2 separate regions of the Homo sapiens genome follow, and region 1 is linked to region 2. Evidence: promoter capture Hi-C in 16 types of primary human blood cells and fetal thymus (Javierre and others, 2016). All regions are on one chromosome and are shown on one strand. The core of a region is centred on a gene start or on the middle of the fragment in contact, and the rest is flanking DNA. Distances in the headings are between cores, read along the strand shown. Region 1 overlaps KCNAB2 (potassium voltage-gated channel subfamily A regulatory beta subunit 2). Region 2 holds the start of RPL22 (ribosomal protein L22).

What was found. Contacts are between HindIII fragments. The CHiCAGO score rates a contact against its expected background, and 5 or more counts as called.
Region 1: a fragment that was not itself captured here is called in contact with the fragment with the promoter of RPL22 in region 2 in 4 of 17 cell types (endothelial precursors, megakaryocytes, M1 macrophages and 1 more); the score reaches 8.0 in endothelial precursors.

Annotation. Positions count from the first base shown.
Region 1 is chr1:6,067,425-6,074,210 of GRCh38, forward strand. KCNAB2 (potassium voltage-gated channel subfamily A regulatory beta subunit 2) reads left to right here. Exons shown (of 16, transcript NM_001199862.2): 3 at 5,331-5,374; 4 at 6,309-6,346. Among named protein-coding and RNA genes, the nearest start is that of KCNAB2, 25 kb to the left of the region's middle. RefSeq lists an enhancer at 6,042-6,786. The HindIII fragment of the contact is 4,024 bases long and covers 3,157-6,786 here.
Region 2 is chr1:6,196,389-6,204,058 of GRCh38, forward strand. It overlaps RPL22 (ribosomal protein L22), which reads right to left and starts at 3,207. Exons shown (of 4, transcript NM_000983.4): 1 at 3,174-3,207; 2 at 1,264-1,368. The coding sequence starts at 3,185. RefSeq lists a silencer at 2,959-3,098. The HindIII fragment of the contact is 15,793 bases long and covers 2,087-7,670 here.

The sequences.
Region 1 (6,786 bases), core at 3,919-6,418, 130 kb before region 2:
ATTGTGAGTCCATCCTGATGCCTGAGCTGTGTGGCTTAAACCTCTACAAAACCAATGCCTGAGAGTTGGGCCTCGTGTGAAAACCGTGTCATCTAAGCCAACCCTTGCTGGAGGTGAATTCTGGGATGACTCTGGGGGTCCTGCATCCACATTCGTGTCTCTTCCTTCCCTGCGTCCTGGGAGGGTGAGACATGCTTTAATGAACCTCTGGGCTGAAAGTGTCCAATCCTCTAAGCTTAATGACAGTCCAGAATGGAATTCTCTGTTCTAGAAGCTCTGGGGTTTACATCTTTTGTTAAGTAGGGATCAAAAGCTAAAATTAGAGCCAGGAGAGGTGGCTCATGCCTGTGATCCCAGCACTTTGGGAGACTGAGGAGGGTGGATCACTTGAGCTCAGGAGATCAAGACCAGCCTGGCCAACATAATGAAACCCTGTCTCTACCAAAAAATACAAAAATTAGCTGGGCATGGTGGTGTGCACCTGTAGTCCCAACTACTTGGGAGGCTGAGGTGGGAGAATTACTTGAACTCAGGAGGCAGAGGTTGCAGTGAACCAAGATCACGCCACAGCACTCCAGCCTGGGTGACAGAATGAGAGCCTGTCTCAAAAAAAATAAAGCTAGGAGTAAACCGAACATGTATATGTATATTTTTTGGTTCAGATACCTATTGCCTTCTGCAACTTTTATGTCAGTCCTAGGATCTCAAAGGAGTTAAAAGCGGGACTATTTCTAAACATAAGGCACTATGTAATTGGAAAGTGTGGCTGTTAACACTGTTTCCCTCCTAAAACTCATTGAGGAGTGGCTCTCAGAGGGTGAATGCTCACCACGCCCATGTGTGTGCTTATGTGTGCATGCACACACGTGCGTGCTGGAGGCAGGGAGGGCAAGACAGGGCAGTGAAGGGGGGTGTTCATCAGGCTGGCAGGTTTGCAGTCTGTGGACCAGAGTTCAAATCCCAGCCCTGGCACTCTCTGACTGAGGGCGGGTTTGCAGTCTGCAGACCAGAGTTCAAATCCCAGCCCTAGCACTCTCTGACTGAGGGACCCCCATCTCTCCAGTGGAGTTGCAAACACCGCCTTATACCTGGCCAGGCCTGGGAGCTTTCCTTGCTGCTGTCACGGCGGGAGGGTAGGTTCATAGCCCTGTAGGATGAGGTGCAGTTTCACAGGGGCTGAGATGGGCCTTAGAATCCAAAGCCTGTGCCATCGGGCACCCCCGCCCCGGGCCTCTCCCATCCCACTCATGCGGTACCTGCGTCATGAGTTGCTGCACAGGGACTGTCCCAGGGCCACAGCCAGGGTGCAAGAGGGGGGCAGCAGGGACTGAGGGGGAGCCTGATCCCAGCCTCCCTGTGACTCTGGCCTCCTCCCTGGGAAGCTGGCCCTTCCCAGTGGTGTGCTCCAGGCACAGCTGTCCAGTGACACGCACAGTCCACAGGTACTAGGAAACTAAAGGTGCATGGCCAGTACCAGGCGCCACATTCTTGCCCAAGGGCCTAAGGCGTGCTCAGTGTAGGATGGCGGGAGGCCAAGCCTGATAAGTAAGGGAGGGGCCAGCACTTGGTCCCGAGAGTCTGACCCCAGGGCCTGGGCTTCTCACCCCTGAATTACTACCCAACATCGTCCCAAACAAGCACTCCCTGGGACCCTGCCACTGCCAGCTCCAATTAGAAGACAAAGACTGGAAGCCCAGCCTGTCCTTAGGGAGCCTGGAATCTCGGAGCAGGGCAGGCGTGCAAACATCATCACTGCACGGAGCAGACAGGCGAGCAGGGCACTAACAGGAGCCACCCCATGTGCCTTCCTCCGCAACCAGCTAGCCAAGGCCACGGTGCTTGCCCTTCACCTGATCACAGTTTTGTCCTCTGCCCAGGTGGCTCCAATGAAAGGCCCCAAACTCCTCTTTGTAAAATGACCTGTCATTTCCCGGAGCCTTCCAGCTCCGGCCCTTCCCAAGTCTGAAGTGCAGTTTTTAGGGGTGTGCAGCAGCCGGGGGCTCCACGATGGGCATCAGTGCTCCCCTCCGGCAGAGGTTATGTCTGTGAGTCCTCACTCCAGGAGTCCAGACCCCAGGAGAGACATGAGGCAAATTAATGAAGACCGACAGTATTTGGGTTTCGAGATGTTGACCACCTGCTTCATTAGGATGTCAGGTTTCAACGATGGGGAAGAAATCGGTAGAAAATGATCTCTGTGTCTGGGAAGTTTCAAGTACAGCAGGGAGCAGCCCCATCCAGACCCGGCTGAGACGTGTGCTCCCCACCCCACACGCAGCAGCCATGCTTACAAAGCGTTCAGCCTGGAGGCGCCCTGTCCCTTCGCATCCCTTCTCCCGAGGCCTGGCAGCGGATGGCAGAACCAATACCATCATTTTCACAGGGAAACAAGTTGAGCAGGGTAATTGCGGCATCACGTGGTGCCCTAGTTTTGTTAAATTAGTCCTGTGGGTGGTGGGTGGAAGAGCGGCTGAACCCAGAGCCCACTCGGGGAAGTGGGCCCATTTCCCAACACTCAGACCAGGAACAGATATGGAATCAGGGGCAGGGGCACCTTTTGCCAGCCCTCCCCAAACTGGTGACCAAGGGGTGCCTCTTCTCTTCAGCCCTGACCTGGCCTTCAGCAGAGCCTTTTCAAGCAACTGTTCCCCACAGTCACTCGTGGAGGTGGTTTTGCAGAGGTGGGGGCCAGGCCTCCCTTCTCGATGCCCAGACATATCTAGACCAGTGGGGTCCAGGGCTCTGTGAACACCCAGACATTGCAAGCAAGGTTCGTTCTGAGGGCATTCGTATCTAGGCATATTTCCAGGCTTTATCTGTTTTTGCAAAGGGGTTATGACCCCAAAGCAGCTGAGAGGCACTGATCAGAACCTCCAGCCCTTTGCTTCATTATTGGACTCCTACTAAGCATTTATAATTTCTTACCACAGTTACTTTCTAGCCAGCATGGGGGAAATTACCTAAACTTCTAAACTGACCAGGCTTATGTGGAATGTATTAGTGGTACAGTTGGGCTGTTCTCCCCAGCAGCCACAGACACGAGTTATTCTGGGTTGGAACATGCCAGCAATTCAGAGGGTACTATCAAGAGTATTTCACTGATGTATAAGGAGGAAAAAGGAAACTTCAGTTCCTTTTTAACATGGTAATAGTTAAAGCTTATTTGATTTGTCCATTGTTTTTGAATAAAGAAAAGGTTACCCTCCTGCTCTCTTTGGGAAATGAGACACATGTGAGTCAGTGTCCTGTGGCCTTCTATCCTCATGGATCTTCTTCTGTCCTCGTGGCAGCCACCGTGAGAAAGGCAGCCTCGTGAGCCCATTCTGCAGATGAGAACACTGAGGCATCGGGCCACTCCATAAAATGCCCGGTGTCCTCCAGCCAGGAAAGTTGTACCAGGATTTGGGCTCTGGCTTCAGAGCCTCAGCCCATAGCCGCCACCCGGTGCGCCCCTTTCCTGAAAGAAAACTCAGCTTTTCTTATGTTCTCCTTTAGGGAAAATCCCAGCTCTGCCTACAGGAGCAATATTGCTGGCAGCTGGAGTGGTTTTAATAGGAAATTGAAAAATAAACCTAGGCAATTTTAAAGTACCTTCAGTTTGGTGACACGTTCAACTGTTTTCAAGCTGCTTACAAATATTATATCCACTCATGAGTTAGGAGTCCAGGAGCCTTATAACCAGGGAAACCGAGGCTGAGAGGGACAGAGTGGGCTCGTGTCAGAAGTCGGGGGTTCAGAATGAGGCTTGAGCCCCATGCCGCCTTCCCAGGGGCCAGGCTTGGACAGGAAAGAGGATAAACTGAGGACATCGCATCCTCCGAAGTTGGAAGTGTCATGGCCCCAGGGAAATGCAGGGCCCTTGGGCCAGGAGGCTGGGCCTCACCCGCTGGTAACTCATGGCTCTCACTCCCCACCGCCTAGAACCAGCTGCCCCTTGACCAGATGCTGGCAGCTGGATTCCACAAGGGAAGTGGAATCTGACCCCAGATGGGTCAAGGCCTGGCTGCAGCTGTGAGATCCACCCGGCCACTTGTCAACCTCACCATCTGGGCAGATCACGCCCTGCTTAACAGGCTGGGGTGTGGGATGCATGCCACCATGGTGGGGAACGTGAGCTGGCAGCCAACTGCCTGGGTGGGATCCAGCTCCTCCGCGTGCTGGGCAGGTATCGTAACGTGGGAATCGATGTCACGACAAGCAAGGCGCCTGCTGCGTAGGGCACCTGCCGCTTAGGACTCCTGCCACCGCGTAGGGCTCTGCTGCGTAGGACTCCTGCCGCCGCATAGGGCTCTGCTGCGTAGGACTCCTGCGGCGAGGGCTCCCTCCTGCCGCGTGGGCTCCTCCTGCCGCGTGGGCTCCTCCTGCCACATAGGGCACCTCCTGCCGCGAGGGCACCTCCTGCCGCATAGGGCACCTCCTGCCGCGAGGGCACCTCCTGCCGCGTGGGCTCCTCCTGCCGCGTAGGGCTCCTCCTGCCGCGTAGGGCTCCCGGGAGGATCCGGGGACAGGATGCCTGGGGACTGCCTGGCCTGCTGCAACCCTGCAGGCTCCTAGGCAACCTGTGCCAGGACATACGGGCATGCCGGTCCTCAGCAGAGGGCTGCCACCCTCCTTCACCTCCTAAGGACAGTCATGATGGCCCAAGGCCTGTTCCTGTGGACCCTGGGATGCACCACAGTGGGCAGGTGCCTCAGTGGCCCCGGGAAGGAGCCCGGGCAGCTGTGCTTGGTTAGGAGGCCTACGCTGCCAGGCTCTGCCGCTGCTGTTGGGCCTGGCTGTGGCTGTAACAAAGGAAGGGCTGGCCTTGCTTGAGAACTGGCAGCCCTACCATGGAGCTCCCCGCACCCCGAGGGACAGATGCACAGGCCATGTGGTCCAGTGAAGTGGGACGATCTCCTGCCCCAGTCGCTGGAGACAGGAAGAAGAGACACAAAATCACAAATGCAGCCTTAGAGAGGAAGGAAGAAGGGGCTTCTCTGCAAGGGGCGCCGCATGGATGGTGCCATGGGGGTGAGACCAGTCCAGTTTCGCCATAAAACAGACAGCGTCCCTGTGCATTTCCATCTGTCCTTGAGACCACTCTGCAGACCCCCACTGGGCACCAGCAGGGCCCGTGCCAGCAGCATGGTGTGGGCCGGGGGCAGTTGGCACTTTACCCCCGGGGTGGGTGAGCAGAGGCACCTCTCTGAAGGTCCCCGGTGCCTTTCGGAGCCTCCAAACACACATTGACTGTTGGGGGAGTGGGTGGGGGGCTGGCCCTGGCGGGAACTGAGCCTGGCTGGCAGGGTCCTGCCTGGGTGCTGAGAACTCACGTGGCGTTTGTTTTTCAGGAACCTGGGCAAGTCTGGCCTGCGGGTCTCCTGCCTGGGACTTGGTGAGTGTGGGGGTCCCCTCCGTCCCACCAGGGAAACAGGCTGTGGGGAGGCCGGGCATGGACTGAACTGGACACCCCTTGGGAGGCAGGGTGGCCCAAACCTTGGCACTCCCCAGGGAGTAGCTGCACCCAGAGCCCAGGATTCAGGGGGGCTCGGTTGCCATGGCAACAAAGAGGCAGGTGGGAGGGGGGCTGGGATAGAGGGAGAGAGACACAGTCTCAGCAGAGGAGGTGAGGCGGATACTAGGGGCCCCTCCACACATGGTCCCCACCCCACACCACAAAATCAGAGGCCCTTAGGGCCCCGGGAGTGCAACGAAGACACCTTACCTTCCAAGGCAGGCTCAGCTCGTGAGTCCCTCCTGGAGCGCCATTGGATTTGGCCCTTTTTCCTCTCCTGTCAGATACAAGGCCTGTTTCCAGAATGTGCAGTCCCCACCTCCCCTCTGCATGCAGTACACACACCCCCACACACACACCGCCCACTGCAGTACACACACCCCGCCCCCCACCAGCACCCACTGCCCTGACACCGCCCTCCCCGCTCTGTCCCAGCAGGAGCACGCAGACGCGGCTGTCAGACCTGGTGTGTTTTCAGAGAGGCATCCCTTGTGCCATTTCTTGCGGCATGTCCTTGGAACTAGAGCTGCCTCAGTACAGCTCTGACCAGCATTTCAAAAGCCCCAGACCTCCTGGACCCATAGCCAGCAGCCCGCTCTAGAGACTTTTGTCCCCTCAGTTTATTGACCCCAGGAGAGCAGGACTTTCTCTGAAGGCCAGCTGTCCACACACACTAAGGACACCCTGGCCACAGAGCAGCACAGAGGGACACCTGTGGCTGCCCCCTGTGCCCTACAGCCTGAGGTCTGAGCACCGACGGGATAATCTGGCTTCCTGCCAGGTTCCTAACTTGAGCCCCTGTGTCTCCTTCCAGGAACATGGGTGACCTTCGGAGGCCAGATCACCGATGAGGTAAGATGGGGCTCTCCCAGCACCCCAGAACCCAGCACGGGCTCGCCAGAGCACATGGTTAAGTCTGCCGCGTGGACCAGTGAGCACGTGCTCCCGGGAGCCAGCGCAGCAGCCTCCCTCCCTCTTTCTGTTTTGTGAGGGCGCCCTGCCCCAGGGGAGAGTAGAAAGGTGAGCCAGGTGGCCATGGCCAGAGGGGATGCCGAGTCTGGTGCCATCACCCAGCAGTGGATGCCTCGGGCCTCAGCATGTCCCTTAAGCTCCCCAGGACTCAGATTTCCCACACGCGTGACCCCCATTCCACAGTTAACGAGGAGAATTCAGGGTGCACACGCTTCCCAAATTCTGAAGCCGGATGCAGGTCCTAGCTGCCCCCATGGAGGCTCCAGTAACTGTCTGTCTTGGTCATTGGGAATGCAGCCCCTGCAGTGTCACAAGCTGAA
Region 2 (7,670 bases), core at 1,957-4,456:
GGGGATTTCTTGAAGGACACAGATGCAAACAGCATCTACATAAAGGCAATAAACTATAAGAGGTTACCTAAATTCCATTCTGGATAATTCGTGACCATAATTATTTTGTGTTTAAAAATTATTTTTGTTGTAATGATACTGATCCTGGCAATAGTTCAACCTTCTGGAGAATTTAGAGCAAATGCAAATTTAGGAGACTTCTACACACAAATACGAAGTCTGAATCCCCCAAACATGGCTATTAGAGGAAAAAGAATAAAATGTCAAAACCAAACTGCTGAGTCAAAATGTGGCGGAAGGATTATTTAATATTTCTAGATTGCAATAGGATAGAGGAATATTGGGGAATGGGCCAAATACAGGGGCAAAAAATCAGCACAGAGCAAGATCTGAAGAAAAAAAAAAAAGCTCCAATTACAATTCAGCAAGCAGGGTACTTTAAACACTGAAGCTCAGATGCTTCATAATATAGAAAAGCTTCGGGAACTGCTGCCACCTGTCCAAAGCTCCACATCAAAGCAGTGAGACCCAGGACAGAGGCAGCCCATAGTCAGGATCAGGGTCCCTCACTTATGCTTAAACACACCAAACAGCAAGGGGGATGCCATGGACCCAGTGAAATTTGTCTGTTTCTCAGTAACTTTTTTTGTTTTGTTTTTGAGACGGAGTCTCGCACTATCTCCCAGGATGGAGTGCAATGGTGCGATCTCTGCTCACTGCCACCTCCGCCTCCCGTGTTCACGCGATTCTTCTACTGCAGCCTCCCGAGTAGCTGGGATTACAGGTGCACACCACCACACCCAGCTAATTTTTTTGTATTTTTAGTGGAGACGGGGTTTCACTATGTTGGCCAGACTGGTCTCGAACTCCTGACCTCATGATCTGCCCGCCTCAGCCTCCTAAAGTGTTGGGATTACGGGCGTGAGCCACCGTGCCTGGCTTGTTTCTGGGTAACTTTTAAGTAAAATCATTTGTGGAAACTAAAGGAGAAAAACAAGATAGTCCTCTAACACCTCTGTGCTAGAGCCCTTCTTGCTTATTCTAAGCCCATCTCCTTTTACTCCTCACAACTGTTGCACACACAAGAAGAAACAAGACTTGGAAACAAACAAGTAATCTGCCCACATTCCCAGGGTGAGATGATACAGCCAGACCTGTGAAGCTGCCTATAAGCCTGAAAACAGAAATGTACCCCAGTAGGTTTTCTCAACAGTATCTCAAAATGTTCGTGACCACCCGAGTGGCAATAAGGATGTAACTTACAAAATTGGCAGCATCCATGATTCCATCTTCTACAGGGTGGGTGCAATCAAGAGTGAACTTCAGAACTTGCTTCTTTTTTTTGCCCCCCTTCACCACAAGCTTTTTCTAAGAAAATACACAAATGATAACAGAGATGAAGTTTCAGTCAGTCGGAAAAACAAGATTAACAGAACCAGAAACGTCATAGGTATAAAAGTCCATACAAATACAAAACTAACGGAAGTGTGCTCCCTTTGCCAGAGGGCCAAGAGGCATCACTGCCTGAGTGCCAGAGGTATAATGGGGCAGATGCTGCTGTACAAGCTTGGGGCCTGGGGTCATGCCCTTTTGATGGGGAAATCATTCTAGCACTCTTGACTCACTCAAACTTTCCAGTCTCCCCAATCTCTACAGGCATGAAGGTCTCTTAGTTTATGAACCACAATAAAATGAACACTTCCTTTTGTTTGCCCTAACATTCCCAATTTCAAAAAAATACTATTTTTCCAAAATTAGAGTGCAGGCATACAAAATGCCTTGCATACCCACAATTTTCATATGAAATCAATCCTTGTCCTACATGTTCAGAGTAGGGTCCTGATCCGTCTTAGCTCATCTCCCTTAATCCTGTCTCATCCACCTTCTCATGAAGGGAGTTGCAAAGTATTCTAGGTGCCTGTCCACTCCAGCTTGGACAAGGTTAAGGCTAAAACCTAGAATCTTATTACAACACTACCGTCAAGAACTTCTGACATTTTGATTCGCTTCATCTATGCATTAGTACTTCCAAACCACCCGGCAAAGCACATCCTACAAGGTTCCAGTTTCTTCACTCTTACGAAGAAGCTTGTGTTAATCTTATCTCTCTACAAACTTGACACCATTAATGCACTTGTGCATCGTACCAACCTGTACTTTCACGTTTAAAAGCTCTGCAGAACTAAATAGACTTTTCCAAAAACACATCTTACCTCCCTTCATGTTTAAAAGAACTTCATCTAAAACTTGTGTTAACTGGATCAACTTTTCAAACATTTGGCCACTACAAAAATCACTGATTTATTTTTTACAACGTCTCTTCGCAGTAATAATCTAAGAGGGGTACTTTAAGATCTATTCCGAACACACACAATCAATCAAGAGACCTACCCACAACGGGCTTGATACTTCTCCATCAAGGTTTTAAACCAAAAGGCATTCAAAAGCCCAACCAGACAGAAAGAGCAGAAGAACCGGAAATGTTAACCAGGGAGTCCCAACAAAAGAGGAAAAGTAGGATCTTGGGACGAAGAACACGGAAAAACAACTTTCTCAAATAACCTAGGAGGAGGGCGCCGCACAGCCCAGTCCCAGCATAGCTAAAGGAGAATGCAATGAGAGCCTTCTCCCTACACCACTGCAACACCCGTTTGGGTCTGTACAGTGCGCCCTGATAAACTAATTTCCTCTGGGGACGCTAAAAAGCTCCTCAAACCCAGGCCTCCTCTCCGAAAGCACGCCGACCAAGCCGCCCTTCCGCGGATTCGTCCCCGAGTCTTGGCCGTGGACTTCCGAATGCGCGGCTCCCCAGGGTAGCAGGTCCCGTTCTTCTTCCCCGCCCTCCACCCAGGTAATCAGGCCCCCGGCCGGGGTCCGAGGACCAGTGGCCGGCCCAGACCGCAGTCTCCAGGCTCCAGCTCCCCGCTAGCCCCTAGCTGGGGCCCCGGGCCTCCGAGACCTCCCGGATCTCCCTCACGAGCCTCGGGCCGCGGCCTCCTCCGCCTACAACGTGCTGGGATCGGCAGGGGCTCTGGCCCGCTCCGGCCGACCTGCCAGCCCACCCCAGCAGGACGCTGCAGGGCGCCGTCCCCAGCGAGCCTGGGTAGATGCCGGGCTCGGCGAGGCCCACGTGCCTCCCCTGGAGCCGAGGCCTCACGCGGAGCCATACTAACCACAGGAGCCATGGCGGCAGCGGAGTTAGAAAGGGAGGTGAGCGAACTACGCAGACGCAAAGAGCCCGCAGCGCGCAAGGCACGCAGGGTCCAGGCCGCACTAATCACTTTGCCACGCCCCTCGTCCGCCACCTTTTCTCTTGGTTATGTACGATAGGGGAGCGATTGGTTTTTCCTGAATGCAAAACGCGTCCTCTCCCAGGCCTGGAGGGTTTCTGGGGAAGGAAGGAGGCCCGGCGGGCTGTCCCACTGCGAACGATCGGAGGGGGGAAGCCAGACTGGACGAGCCCAAAGATAAATAAAGGGGTTGGCTTTACTTTTTGAAAGTCTTGGGAAGAAAAAAGAAATAAGGAAATTCACTATACTGTAAATTACCAGCTAGTGGGATGGAAATCGAATCTACTAATTTGGGGAAGTGGGAAAATTCCTTGTAGCCACCGGGAAATTTCGTTCAGAGGTCCCAATGCCAGACCACTATGGCTTCCTCAAAAAGCCCCAGCTTGGAAGCTCATGCCCAGGGGCTGTCTCCCAGTGCCTGTCCTTTTTGCTGTAGCCAGGCCGCCCCCTCGCTGATCACCACTCCCTAGTTTCCCAGCCCAAGCCTTCTAGTTTCCCATCCCAAACCAGTAAGTAGTTGAGGACCACCAGGAGATCTGGAAAATGCAGATTCCAATTCCAGCGGTCTCAGTGGCCTGAAATTCTGCATTTCTCACAAGCTCTCAGACGATGCTGATGCTGCGAGTCCATGGACCGCATGTGGAGAAGCAAAGGTCCTCATCCCCAGGCCCACAGGTCCCTTGAACTGGGCTACTTTGCACCCAGTCACCCGCTGCGTCCTCACGGAATTATATTCCAGGATCCTGAATTGTAAATCACTCAGTGGCACACACACTCTCCACTCCCTTTACCTGGCTTCAGTGTACTCACCTAGCAAAAGTCCAATCACCAGAAGAGACTGTGCTGATGGGTCTAGCTTTCAACTCAGGCCTCAAGCCGGTTGACCAAGCTCCAAAGCCAGCTGCTGTTCTTGGCTCTATAATGATCAGGCTGGGCCTCTGCAAACACTTCTGCTTTCCAGCTGATCCCGGTTTGGCTCTATCAATAGGGGGCTTTGCTTCCTGCTTGCTCCTGTCCTGTCTGGTGTCATCCACTCTTGCTTCTTTATCCTGGAGGTGGCAGTTGGAACATTCTGGAAGCAGCAGTGGAATCCAGTCTGCACTTATTCCAACATTTGCAGAACCAGCCTCGTTTTCTCCTCAGAGACACCAGCCCTAGCAGAGCAGCACCCTCTCCTCAGATGTCTGAGTTTCACCTCCCTGTGCCCCTCCTCAAGCATCTACATTTTAATAATACCACCTACCAGTGGTAGCTACTTCCTGCAGTTGCTACTGTTAGTATTATACCCCGACAGTTACCTAAACACATCTTTATACCTAGTTAACAATCCTTTATATTAAATTCTCTCAGTTAAAAACTATAATGTGTTGTCTTTTGACTGGACCCTGGCTGATAACGGACCCTAAGCGAGCCCTCAGGGCTACTGACAATCCTAAATCTCTCCCCCAAGGGACTATTTCCCTTTCTTGTTGTTTTTAATAGAGACAGGGTCTTGCTCTGTCACCAAGGCTGGAGTGCAGTGGTGTGATCATAGCTTACTGCAGCCTCAAACTCCTGGGCTCAAGTGATCCTCCCACCTTGGCCTCCCAAATTGCTGGGATTACAGGCATAAGGCACTGCACCTGGCCCAAAAGACTATTTCACACCTCAGTCATAATGCCAGCCCCTTCTTCCTAAACCTCCCTCTCAGCAGTTGACTTTTATTGTTCTTTCCTTTTTCTTTCTTTTTTTTTTTTTTTTTTCTGAGACAGGCTCTCGCTCTGTTGCCCAGGCTGGAGTGCAGTGGTGCGAATACGGCTCACTGAAGCCTTGACATCCTAGGCTCCAGCAATCCTCCCACCTCAGCCTCCTGAGTAGCTAGGACCACAGGTGTGCACCACCATGCCCAGCTGCATGTTTTTTTGTTTTGTTTTGTTTTGCTGTTGTAGAGAGTTGGTGTCTCACTATGGCTATGTTGCCCAGGCTGATCTAGAACTCCTGGGCTAAAGCAATCTTCCTGCCTCAGCCTCCCAAAGTGCTAGGATTACAGGCGGGAGCCATCACACCCAGCCTCCTCCCGTCCTTATCTACACTTGATCTTTAGACAAGACCCACATGCTCTTCCCTTTAAATATGACTCCCCAGGCCAATGTGTGCAGCCTCTACCCCTCCCTGGACTCCCCACAGGTACAGCCAGTGGCATCCTTGGCATCTCTAGACTAGTGTCCCGTAGATCACCCTGACCCTCATGAGCCCATTCTCACCTCTTCACCCTCACCCCCACCTCCCCACACTCAAACCCTCATCCCTCACCCCACACCCCCTGCCCCGCCCCCACCTCTCCAGCCTCACCCCCATCCTCCATCCTCACTCCCATGCCATGTTCAGCCCTACTCCCCACCCTGAGCTCCTTCATCTCCAGCCACATTGATCTGCTAGTCTCTAAATGTCTTCCCATTTCTGGGGCTTTGCACTTGCTCTTGCCTCTGCTTGGAACTTTTCCCAGCTTTTCTATTTTTGTTTTTCTTTCGAGACAGGGTCTTACTCTATCACCCAGGTGGGACTGCAGAGGTGCAGTCACAGCTCACTGCAGCCTCAACCTCCTGGCTCAAGCAATCCTTCCACCTCAGCCTCTCAAGTAGCTGGGACTACAAGCACGAGCCACCATGCCCAGCTAAGTTTTAGTATTTTTTATAGAGGGGGGAGTCTTGCTATGTTGCCCAAGCTGGTCTTGAACTCCTGGGCTCAAGAGATTCACCCACGCTGGCCTCCCAAAGTGCTGGGATTACGGGTGTGGGCCACTGCGCCCAGCCTTCCTGGCTTTTCTTAATTTCTTATCCTCTGGGGGTCTCAAGCTCAGTTCCCCCTCTCTGCTCATGGTTACCTAGTGTGGTCCTCAGCTCGAGCCCCTCCCAACTGCCCTCCATCTCATCATCCTTATTTATTTATTTAATTTTTTAGGCGGAATCTCACTCTGTCACCCAAGCCGGAGTGCAGTGGCGCCATCTCGATTCTCCTGCCTCAGCCTCGCAAGAGTAGCTGGGATTACAGGCATGCACCACTACACCCAGCTAATTTTTCCTTTTTTTCCTTTTTTTTTTTTTTTTTTTTTTTTTTTGAGACAGAGGTCTCACTCTGTCACTCAGGCTGGAGTGCAATGGCGCAATCTCGGCTCACTGCAACCTCCACCTGCCAGGTTCAAGCAATTTTCCTGCCTCAGCCTCCGAAGTAGCTGGGACTCCAGGTGCGTGCCACCATGCCTGGCTAATTTTTTGTACTTTTAGTAGAGACAGGGTTTCACCATGCTGGCCAGGCTGGTCTCGAACTCCTGACCTCGTGATCCACCCGCCTCGGCCTCCCAAAGTGCTGGGATAACAGGCATGATCCATCGTGCCCAGCTAATTTTTGTATTTTTAGTAGAGACGGGTTTTCACTATGTTGGCCAGGTTGGTCTCGAACTCCTGACTTCAGGTGATCCGCCCACCTCAGCCTCCCAAAGTGCTGAGATTACAGGTGTGAGCCACGGCACCCGGCCTATCATCCTTATGATTTTCTTCCAAGCAGTTAATGCAGCCTGTCATTATTTGTTAATCTGTGTACTTGACTAACCTTGGCTGGTGTGTTCCCTTCTATGTGCCCATGGTAGATGCTCTGTAAATACTAGTTGAACAGATGCAGACATGAATGAATGGATGAATGAAGCACTCACCTCCTACCGGGAAACTAATGCATCATTCCTTAACAAAGCACCTACGCGGTTTTGTATACCAGCTCCACCACTTTCTGGGGTAATATTTTCTACTTTTTAAGAGTGTTCTCCAGATTAAATGAGTTAATATAAGTTAAACAGCTTAGAATAAAATATTGGCCCATATCTCCCCACCCTCCCTCCCCTTGTACAAAAAAAAAAAAAAAAGGCCCGGTGTGGTGGCTCACGCCTGTAATCCCAGCACTTTGGGAGGCAGAGGCGGGCAGGTCACCTGAGGTCGGGAGTTCGAGACCAGCCTGACCAACATGGAGAAACCCCGTCTCTACTAAAAATACAAAATCAGCCAGGCGCGGTGGCACATGCCTATAATCCCAGCTACTCGGGAGGCTGAGGCAGGAGAATCGCTTGAACCCGGGAGGCGGAGGTTGTGGTGAGCTGAGATGGCGCCATTGCACTCCAGCCTGGGCAACAAGAGCAAAACTCCATCTCAAAAAAAAAAAAAAAAAAAGAATCTTGGCCCATAAAAGAATGTTGGCCTATAAACACATAAACATTAGCCATTGCTACTACTGTCATTATGATTTGGTCCACAAATAGAACCAGGGCTAGGGACCGGGCATGGTGGCTCACGCCTGTAATCCCAGCACTTTGGGAGGCCAAGGTGGGGCGGATCACGAGGTCAGGAGATCGAG